Regions from separate parts of the Homo sapiens genome. Here regions 1 and 2 are each linked to region 3. The links are contacts of gene promoters, found by promoter capture Hi-C in blood cells and fetal thymus (Javierre and others, 2016). All regions are on one chromosome and are shown on one strand. The core of a region is centred on a gene start or on the middle of the fragment in contact, and the rest is flanking DNA. Distances in the headings are between cores, read along the strand shown.

Region 1 (3,646 bases), core at 284-2,783, 310 kb after region 3:
GTGGCTGCATCGTGGACATGGGGGCAAGGCAGCTCTCTGGGTGGGCAGAGGCAGGAGCTGAGGCAAGGATGTGGGCATCCTTTTGGGTACATCTAGTCCTAGAGCTGATCCAGGGGCCAGTCAAATGTGCAGCCAAAGTCGGGTCAACCCCAGCACTGTCCTGTGGGTGGGGGTAGCAGGGAGCCAACAGTCCAGGCCCTACATCCTGTTCTAATAGAGTGACAAGTCTGATGAGGCTGGGGGTGCACAAGCACTGAGAAGGCAGCAGGACAGGGAGCCAAACACATGGGGTGGTGGGGGAAACCAGGGAGCTGGACACAGGGTGGGGGGGTCCTGGGAGTTGGACACATGGGCCAGGTTGGGGGTCCAGGGAGCTAGACACAGGGGGTGGGGAGGGGAGTCCAGGGGACTAGACACAGAGTGGGGGGTGGGTCCAGGGGGCTAGACACACAGTGTGGGGGGTGGGTCCAGGGAGCCGGACATACACATGGGGTGGGGAGGGGGCATCCAGGGAACCAAGTCTAGGCAGAGGCAACTGGCGCAAAGGACCTGAGGCAGAAGAGGGTTTGGTGTGTGAGGCGGGACTGAGGACTGTGGGCGAGGGAGACAGCTCTACCAGGACGCATGGTTCGGGGAGGACAGGCTGCAGGGTGCCTGGGCTGCAGGCACGGCACGGAGAGGAGTGATCCAGTGTTAACAATGTGGGTGGAGGATGACACCAGACCCCTGGCTTATTGCCCCACCAGGGGAATTCCCAGACACCAAACACCCCCTCCACTCCCACGCAGAATTGCGGGCTGAGGGTTCGGGTGAGCCAGGCTGCTCTGTCCCGGGGCCGGGCTCTGTTCATCCATCCGCAGATGGATACGGACACGTGCCTTTTTCTGAGGATGTGAATGGTTGGGAATGGCTGTGCCTGAGGATGTTGTTCCCACAGGATGGTGGGGGCGACTTCGGGCCTCGGTGGGTCCCGACCCCCCTCCTTCCCCCAGTTCCCTAATCAGGGTCTGAGCGACCGCGCGCACGGCCCCTGGGCCCCGCCGGTCTCCGAGCCCGTGGGCAGCGCCGGGAACTCGTGCCCCGGTGGCCGCAGCCGACCCTTAGGCAGGACTTCGTGGCGCCCCCGGCCCGAACAGACCCCCACGGGCAGCCTCGGCCGCCCCGTGCTCCCTTCATCTCAGGGCAAAAGCTCAAGTCAACCCTTCGGGACCGCGAGCCGGGCGGCCTCAGGAAGCGGGCGCCTGGGGACCCTCGGCCGGGCCGGGGGCGGCGAAGGTGGGGGCGCCTCGCGCGGCGGAACCCGCCGTCCCCATAGCCCGGAGCCCCGTCCGGAGTCGCCCCGCTGACCGGTGAGGAGGCCGGGCTCCCTCCTTCGATCTGCGGCGGTGGTCGGGTCGGCCGGGGCGCCCCTCGGACCCGGGCGCAGCGCGGAACCCGGCGGGGCGGGAGGGGCCGGAACCTAGCGCCAGGGACCCCGTTTCCTGTCGGCGGGACCCGAGCGCTGCACCGAGCGCAGCCGGACGCGGCCGACTGACCCGGTCGCTGTGGCAACGCGGCGGGACCTGGCCAGCGCTGCTGGCGGGCGTTAGGGTGAGGTGCGGGCGGGCGGCGTGGGAGGCGTGGGAGGCGTGGGGGGCGCCGCTCCGACCACTCTTCCTGTAGAAAACCCCAGCAGCTGCCGTCCTGTCGGACGCAGCGCTTTGGTGGGGACCTGGAGCGCGAGGTCGACCCTCAGAGCTCGGCCAGGCCCGGACCGGGGATCCCCTCGCGGAGGCTGCGGCGGGGCGGGGCGGGGGTTGCGGCCGCGTGGAGCGGGAGCGTTCCCTCGGTCTCCCGTGGGTGACCTGGGGCGGTGGGCGCTGCCGACCAGGGCCCCGCAGCCCCGGGAGAATTCCCCGGGTTCCGCCGCCGGCAAGGACGGCTCCGCGCCCAGGCAGCCTTACAGTGTCTGTGAGTTTAAAAAAAAAAAAAAAAAAAGAGAGGAAAAAAAAAGGCCGGAGGCGGTGGTTCGCGCCTGTAATCCAGCACTTTGGGAGGCAGAGGCGGGCAGATTGCTTGAGGCCCGGAGTTCGAGACCAGCCTGGCCAACATGGTGAAACCCCCTCTCTACTAAAAATACAAAAATTATTGGGCGTGGTGGTGCACGCCTGTAATCCCAGCTACTCCGGAGGCTGAAGCAGGAGAATCGCTTGAACCCGATGTTGTAACTGAGGGAGTTATAGAGAGAACGCCACACTCTGAGACTACTCAGGAGTCCTGTATTGCCAGCGACTGACAGACTGCTAGAGCTGCAAATTCCCTCGGCCCCGAAGAAGGGGCTAGATTTCTTTTGATACCTTGGTCTAAATAGAGGAGGGGAGGCTAGCTGAAGCGATTTTTTTACAGAAGCAGAATAGGCAAAAAGTTAAAAGATAAATGGTTACAGAAACAGTTACAGGAAAATAAACAGTTCCAGGTACAGGGGCTTAAATTATCACAAAGTGATAAACGCAGGGGCTTTGGGTACCATCAACCGAGCGCGTTCCCAGGAGCTGCTGGTACAGCTTGCTCCAGTTTCTTATCAGTATTTTATCAGTAAGCGCATTCCTGGATGTGCTTGGAGTCAGCTTGCCCCAGTTATGTCCTTAAGGGACGGGGACAAGGGGCTGCAAGCGAAGAAACCAAAATGGTGTCTGTCCGGCCCTCTCAGCTAAGAGAGAGTCAGTCAGGTTAAAACAAAGTAGGGTACCACACCGAGAGGCGCAGGTTGCGGAGAGCCAAGATCGCGCCATTGCACTCCAGTCTGGGAGACAAGAGCGAAACTCGGTCTCAAAAAAAAAAAAAATTATCTGTAACTTAGAAAAAGGATACAAAAGGAGCACAGATTTCCCGTGTGCCTTTTGCCCAGAGCCCCTAGAATGCTGACCTCTTAGAGAACCACAGTTCATTCAGCAACATGTAGACGCTGGCGTTCATGTTGGTATCATCCCATGATCTGGTCTCCAGTATTTATTCTTGCTTAGCAGCTACCTCATGGATGACTTTACCGTGGTCCAGGATCCAATGATGAGTCCACTATTTTATAAAATGCCCCCCAGTTCGGGGGCATTTCTCTGATGTTTTGTCATAATTGATTTCATATTACTGATTTTTGGCAAGAAAACCTCAACAGGGAAATTGTGCCCTTCCCAGCGTCTTACGAGACACAGGATGCCCCTGGCTGTTGGTGCTAGTCACGTCCTGGGGGCTGAGGTGGTGTCTGCCAAGTGTGTCCATAAAGTTAGGGTCCTTCCCTTTGTAAATAATAAATATTTTGTGGGGAAATATCTTGCCACTATGTAAAAGATGATGTTTCTTTCTTTCTCTCTTTTTCTTTTTTTTTTTTCTTTTTTTTTTTTTTTTAAGACGGAGTCTCTCTTTGCCGCCCAGGCTGGAGTTCAGTGGCGCGATCTCGGCCCACTGCAACCTCTGCCTCCTGGGTTGAAGTGATTCTCCTGCCTCAGCCTCTCAAGTAGCTGGGATTACAGCCGCCCACCACCACCCCCAGCTAATCTGTGTATTTTTAGTAGAGACGAGGTTTCGTCATGTTGGCCAGGCTGGTCTCAAACTTCTGACCTCAGGTGATCCACCACCTTGGCCTCCCAAAGTGCTAGGATTACAGGTGTGA
Region 2 (3,348 bases), core at 424-2,923, 450 kb after region 3:
GAAAATCTGAGACAGGTCTCAGTTAATTTAGAAGGTTTATTTTGCCAAGGTTGAGGACATGCCCATGGCACAGCCTCAGGAGGTCCTGACAACATGTGCCTGAGGTGGTTGGGGCACAGCTTGGTTTTATACATTTTAGGGAGACATGAGACATCAATCAATATATGTAAGATGAACATAGCGGCTAGCTGCGGTGGCTCACGCCTGTAATCCCAGCACTTTGGGAGGCCAGCGGATCACCTGATGTCAGGAGTTCGAGACCAGCCTGGCCAACATGGTGAAACCCCCATCTCTACTAAAAATACTAAAATTAGCTGGGTGTGTTGGTGGGTGCCTGTAATCCCAGTTATTTGGGAAGCTGAGGGAGGAGAATCGCTTGAACCTGGGAGATGGAGGTTGCAGTGAGCCGAGATCACGCCACCGCACTCCAGCCTGGGTCAGAAAGCGACTCCGTCTCAAAAAAAAAAATTGGTTCAGTCTGGAAAGGCGGGACAATTTAAAGCAAAAGCCATCGGGGAGGGAGCTTCCTGGTCACAGATAGGTGATACACAAACGGTTACATTGTTTTGAGTTTCTGATTAGCCTTTTTTTTTTTTCTTTTCCTTTTTGATCAGTCTTGCTCTGTCGCCAGGCTGGAGTACAATGGCTTGATCTCGGCTCACTGCAACCTCCGCCTCCCAGGTTCAAGCGATTCTCCTGCCTCAGCCTCCCGAGTAGCTGGGACTACAGGGGCGCACCACCACACCTGGCTAATTTTGTATTTTCAGTAGAGACAGGGTTTCACCGTGTTGGCCAGGCTGGTCTCGAACTCCTGGTCTCAATGTGCGCCACCGCGCCCAGCCTTCTGATGAGCCTTTTCAAAGGAGTCAGTCAGATATCCATCTATCTCAGCGAGCAGAGGGTGACTCTGAATAGAGCGGGAGGCAGGTTTGCCCTGAGCAGCTTCCAGCCTGAGTTTTCCTTAGTGATTCCGGGGGCCCAAGAGATTTCACATGTTTTAGGTACTGAATGTCCTGGTTCAACTTCGGGCTTCGCTCTCAGATATGGAAAGCTCTGACAAAGCTGCTTTTTACATCTGTTGGGTCTCAAATGCCTTCAGTTTAAAATAACCTTCACATCCACTCTGGGGTTCCCAGTGGGTCCCCACAGCTCGAAATAACCCAAGGAGGGTCCACGGCGGGTAGGAAAGTCGATCGAAGGCTGGCGGCTGCGGAAACCCAGGGCGGGCAAGGAAGGTCCCTGGAGGGTGATTTTCCGCAACGCAGCGGCGGAAAGTGAGTGGCTTTCAGAGGCGGCAGGTGAGTGGGTTCGAGGCAGGGCTCTGGGGCCGCTTTAGGATATAACGGGATGAAGCCCCCAATGCGAACTTGGGGGCTGGGCAGCGCAGGGCCTCAGCGCCCACGGTCTACCCGCGGCCCGGGCCTTATGTGCGCCTCAGCGAGGCCCAATTTCCACATGCCTCGTTTCCAGCGAGCTGTCGGTGAGTCCCGGCGAGCCCCGACCCCTCTCTAGCCACGGCCTGACGGGTACGGTGGTGACCTCAGCCTCTGACCTCCGACCCCGCGCCGCGACCTCTCGTCGCCGGTCCCCTCGGAGCCGGGCGCGGTTTCCGGGGAACGCGTTTCCCGCCGCACCGTGGGCCGCCCGGACCGCGCAGGACCGGGCACCTTCCGGTGGCGGCGCGGAGCCTTGGGCCCGGCTGCGGCCCGGCGGCGGCCCCGGCGCGGTGCGGGCGTTCGCGGCGCCCCGGGAGCTGCAGGGGCCCCGGGCGGCGGCGAGGCCGGAGAGGGGCGGGCCCGGGACACCGGCACCCGGCGCCCTCGGAGCCAAAGGCGCGCGGCGGACACGGCGGGGCCCTCGCGCGGTGAGGACGCGGAGGCGTGTGGGCTCCTGTCACTTCACACAGCAAACGCTGCCCGCCGCGTGGCTCCGGAGGAGTCTCGCGAGGGGCGCCCCTGTGGCGTTTCGGGCCAGCCGGGCCGCCTGGCCGGGTGCGGAGAAGGAAGCTCTGCCCTTCCCCTGGCCCGGCGCGGAGCCGATTCTCCCGGGAAGGGGCCGGGGGTCCTAACTTCACCGCCGGGCGGCCTGCTCAGGGCCAGGCCCGCGGGGACGCTGGCGTCAAGGTTTCTTCCCCCTTCACGCCAGTCCCCTACCAGGCCGACATCGAGTCCCGCTCCCCAGGGAGGGTCAAGTCCCAGGGGTCCAGCGGCTCCCCCGAGGTCCGCTAGGAGGTGGCGGCACTGGAGTGGCCGTTCTCCAGCCTGCACCGACCCCCGCCTTTAGTGCCCCCGCGTGTGACCCAACGGTGGTACTGGAGCGGCCTTAGAAGGGTGACCGCTGCCTCTGAGTTGAGTCTTAAGCCCCTCGTTGGGCCTGGCTGAACCCCGGGTCTGCGCCTTTCCCCCAGCCTGGAGACGATGCCAAAGCTGCAGGGCTTCGAGTTCTGGAGCCGCACCCTGCGAGGGGCCCGCCACGTCGTGGCCCCCATGGTGGACCAGAGCGAGCTGGCCTGGAGGCTGCTGAGCCGGCGCCACGGGGCACAGCTCTGCTACACGCCCATGCTGCATGCCCAGGTCTTTGTCCGCGACGCCAACTACCGGAAGGAGAACCTGTACTGCGAGGTGTGCCCCGAGGACCGGCCCCTCATCGTGCAGGTGCGCAGGAGGGGCTGTGGCCGCGGCCGCGGTTGGGTTCCCGGTCCTGGAATGCCTGGGGAAAAACCCTTCTCTCTGTGGCGGGACATCACTTTCAGCCTTTCCAGAGACAGCTCAATTCCAGGAGGAGAGGGAGAAGGTGGCACCAGGCATGTAGAGTCCACGTAGCCACAGCAGTGATTCCTGTGGTGGAGCCAGGGCTGCCAGGTGCACCTGCCAGAATCCAACCCCATTCTCTAGGAGTGGCTCAGGCAGCCTGGGTGCTGTGAGGTTTGCAGCCCTGCTGGGGCCTCTGGATTGCTGCCTCTCACACTCACACTCCCTCTTCAGAACCAGTGGAGATGGCTCTGCTCTTCAGAAGTCAGTGATTGTGGCTTCTGCCACAGTTCAGAAGAAAATCTGTAAATCCGGGTGGCTTGGGGACTCCTCCCGGCTTTGTCATATTGTAAGCCTCCGCAGGACAGAGCACCCTCCTGCAGTGAACCTGGGCCCACACCCTCATGGGGTCACACTGGACCTCTCGTAGGGCTGGGCAGCAAGGGACTAGGGCCTGGCTGGGCCCGTGGCTGACTCCTGCATCTTCTCCAGTTCTGTGCCAATGACCCGGAGGTGTTTGTTCAGGCGGCTCTCCTGGCTCAGGATTACTGTGACGCCATTGACCTGAACTTGGGCTGCCCACAGATGATAGCCAAGA
Region 3 (3,532 bases), core at 501-3,000:
CCAATTTGTAGGCCGGGCGCGGTGGCTCACGCCTGTAATCCCAGCACTTTGGGAGGCCGAGGCGGGTGGATCACGAGGTCAGGAGTTCAATACCAGCCTGGCCAAGATGGTGAAACCCCGTCTCTACTAAAAATACAAAAAATTAGCCGGGCGCGGTGGCAGGCGCCTGTAATCCCAGCTACTCGGGAGGCTGGGGCAGGAGAACCACTTGAACTCAAAGGGCGGAGATTGCAGTGAGCCAAGATCGCGCCACTACACTCCAGCCTGAGCGACAAAGTGAGCCTCCGTCTCAAAAAACAAAAAACAAAAAAATTCCAGTTTGTGTGGACAAAGGCTGTACTTGCAATGATCTAGAAGTGAGCCCCTGAGGAATAATTAGCATTTCCTAGACAGCAAGTTTGTGTTTCAAGCAGAGTAAACGATAACTTCATAAAACCACAGGACCAAGCTAAATTGTTTTGTAGCAGGATAGGCAGTTCCCTATCAGGCTGACTTAACACTCTACATGACCTTGTAATAATTCCTAATCAACTGTCTTTTTGTAGAAGTTATGCGAAAAGCATCTAGTTTTCCCTAAATTTTAAGGTTCAGAGCACAGATTGAAAATCCATCATGCTTGAAGCGTCTTCCAATTTGGCCTACTGAAAACACGGCAGGGAAAAAGGAGTCCTTCCTGCTTAAAACACCGCACTCTTGAAACAGCTCACTACTGAAAACGACTGAACAACAACAACAACAAAAGACAACAGACAACCCTTCATCGGTTAAGAGACATAGATTTTAGTTCGGGGCAGTTCCTCCCACCGCACACCGTTTTCACATTTCTGTTCAGCGCGACCTCGCTGCAGAATAGAAACAGCACACGTGAACTCCCCGCACGCACAGAACCCAGAAACCTTGACCCGCGCGCGCAGCCGCCCGCAGCCCCGGCTCCAGGAAGGGGGAAAGACGGGGGGCTGCACCTGCCAGGAAGGGGACCGGGAGGACGGGGGTCGGGGCCAGGGGCTGTCGAGGGTTGGGATCCAGCCGGGGCCTGGGTCCCGCTGGTGGTCCCGGCTGTGGGAGAGTCGGGCCCCCGCTCGTGGGTGGTCCCGGGCCTGGGCGCGTGTCCCGTCCCGTCCTGCCAGGCGCTGCAGGCCGCAGACCCCGCCCGCCCCGCCCCGAGGCCACTCACACGCGCGGCAGCTGCAGCGGCGGCGCCCCGCGCCTCTGGAACACGCCGTCCACGAATACCCCGTTCTTGCCCAAGCAGCGCAGGTAGAAGTCGCCGCCGGCGTCGGGCCTGGGCTGCGCGGGCGGCAGCTCCGGAGCGGCCCCGCCATGGCCGCCGCCGCCCGGGGGCGTGAAGATCTCGAGGTGGCGCCGGGAGATGAAGCTCGAGTGGCCCATGCTCACGTCCACCGAGCCCTGCGACGAGTTGCGGCCGATGGTCACCGAGCGCTTCTTCATCAGATACTCGAACTCGCGGCCCTCCAGGCGCGCCACGGCCCAGCCGCCCGGCGGGGACCCGCCGCCCCCGGCCCCGCCGCCCCCGGCCCCGCCGCCCGCGGGTGGCGTGCCCGCGCCCGAGAGCGCCGCCGCGGCCGCCGCCATGGGCCTGCGTGAGGGCCCCCGGGCCGCTCCGCGCGGGCGCCGGTGGCGCGGGCCGAGGCCCAGGCCGCGCGGGTCGTCGGCCGCCGCGCACCGGAGCTGAGGGAGGGGGCCGAGCGGAGGCCGCCGGCCGGCGAGCGAGCGAGCGGCGGCGAGGGGCGGGAGCACGCGCGGCCGCGCCACCGAGCCGGCACGCCGGGCCCGCCCCTCGCTGACGGACGGTTACGCCGGCCAATGGGGGCGGCGTACGGCAGTGGGGCTACCGAAGCAGGCCAATGGCAAGACACGTCGCACCAAGCTGCCGGCACGTCCGGCGGCGACGCCCGACGCAGTCCCGACTCCGGGCGCCGCGGAAAACCCGGGGCGGACAGTCGGCAGCCCGCGCGGGATCGGGGCTGGCGCGGGGTTGGCGCGGGCGCGGGAGCTCGGGGGTCTGAGCCCGGCCTGGCAGCGCCTTAGGCGCGGCGGGCGGGACCAGGCCCAAGGTCACAGCGGGCGCCAGGCACGCAGCGGCCCCCAACCCGGCGTGGACGCCGGGGTGCGGATAGGCGGCGGCCCGCGAGCCCAGGCCCGGCCGCCGAGCGGCCTTTTCCCCGCGAGGTGCGGGAATATCGCGGAGGGGCCGCGTGCCGCGTGGCCTCAGACCCAGGGGACCCGGTGACACGTTCGTTTTTAACCAGCAGCTCCAGGACTGGATGTCGTTATCTTTCCTGGCTAGCGAGTCATGTCATTGTGTCAAAACTGTCCTGCAAAATACGCAGAAGTTCTGAATCACATTTACTTAACTGTCGTCAGCACACAGTTTAAAAATATACACGAGGCCGGGCGCGGTGGCTCACGCCTGTAAGCCCAGCACTTTGGGAGGCCGAGGCGAGCGGATCACCTGAGGTCAGGAGTTCGAGACCAGCCTAGCCAACATGGTGAAATCCCAGCTCTACTAAAAATACAAAAAAAAAAAAAAAAATAGCCGGGTGTGGTGGTGCACACCTGTAGTCCTAGCTACTCAGGAGGCTGAGGCAGGAGAATTGCTTAAACCTGGGAGGCGGAGGCAGGAGAATTGCTTCAACCTGGGAGGTGGAGGTTGCAGTAAGCCGAGATCGCGTCACTGCACTTCAGTCTGGGCAACAAGAGTGAAACTACGTCTCATATGTATATATATGAACTATATATATGTGAACTATATATATATATATGAACTATATATATATGAACTATATATATATGAACTATATATATGAACTATATACATATATGAACTATATATATATGAACTATATATATATGAACTCTCATGAACGAATAGTTAATATCTTAACCAATCTGATACTAAGTTTTTAAAAAAAGAATTTCGCCACCGTTTAAAAAATTACAAGATCCCATCTAAATCAAGATGATCAATAGTCCAGATGTTCACTAATCAATGAAACTCCTAACATTAAAAAGAAAAAATCCTGTGGCCGGGCGCGGTGGCTCACACCTGTAATCCCAGTGCTTTGGGAAGCCGAGGCGGGTGGATCACAAGGTCAGGAGTTCAAGACCAGCCTGCCCAACATAGTAAAAGCCCGTCTCTACTAAAAATACAAAAATTAGCCAGGCATGGTGGGGCGTGCCTGCAGTCCCAGCTACTTGGGAGGCTGAGGCAGTAGAATCGCTCGAACCTGGGAGGCGGAGGTTGTGGTGAGCAGACATCACGCCACTGCCCTCCAGCCTGGGTGACAGAGGAGACTCCGTCTCAAAAAAAAAAAAAAAAAAAAAAATTGGGAAAAGAAAGAAAAAATCCTGTAAATGTATCTCACGGGTACTTAACCAGTTGTGGAGACGTTCAAGGTTCAGGATCATGAAAAGTCTACAACCTCTTAAACAGGAAGAATTCCGTGGGAAGTCAGTGTCAGCCCTAGAAACCATGGCTTGGGCTCCAAGCGCGCATCTTCGCAAAACTGAA

Evidence for each region. Contacts are between HindIII fragments. The CHiCAGO score rates a contact against its expected background, and 5 or more counts as called.
Region 1: the fragment with the promoter of CCDC57 here is called in contact with the fragment with the promoter of FOXK2 in region 3 in 1 of 17 cell types (neutrophils); the score reaches 7.8 in neutrophils.
Region 2: the fragment with the promoter of DUS1L here is called in contact with the fragment with the promoter of FOXK2 in region 3 in 1 of 17 cell types (neutrophils); the score reaches 5.4 in neutrophils.

The regions. Positions count from the first base shown.
Region 1 is chr17:82,210,729-82,214,374 of GRCh38, reverse strand. CCDC57 (coiled-coil domain containing 57) reads left to right here and starts at 1,533. Exons shown (of 19, transcript NM_001394669.1): 1 at 1,533-1,590. RefSeq lists an enhancer at 180-1,122 and a silencer at 1,073-1,992. The HindIII fragment of the contact is 36,876 bases long and covers 1-3,646 here.
Region 2 is chr17:82,064,129-82,067,476 of GRCh38, reverse strand. It overlaps DUS1L (dihydrouridine synthase 1 like), which reads left to right and starts at 1,673. Exons shown (of 14, transcript NM_022156.5): 1 at 1,673-1,864; 2 at 2,408-2,654; 3 at 3,243-3,348. The coding sequence starts at 2,418. RefSeq lists silencers at 1,602-1,661, 1,672-1,741, 2,032-2,081 and an enhancer at 2,305-3,033. The HindIII fragment of the contact is 12,631 bases long and covers 1-3,348 here.
Region 3 is chr17:82,517,950-82,521,481 of GRCh38, reverse strand. It overlaps FOXK2 (forkhead box K2), which reads right to left and starts at 1,750. Exons shown (of 9, transcript NM_004514.4): 1 at 1,175-1,750. The coding sequence starts at 1,593. RefSeq lists silencers at 911-960, 1,041-1,220, 1,671-2,330. The HindIII fragment of the contact is 16,273 bases long and covers 1-3,532 here.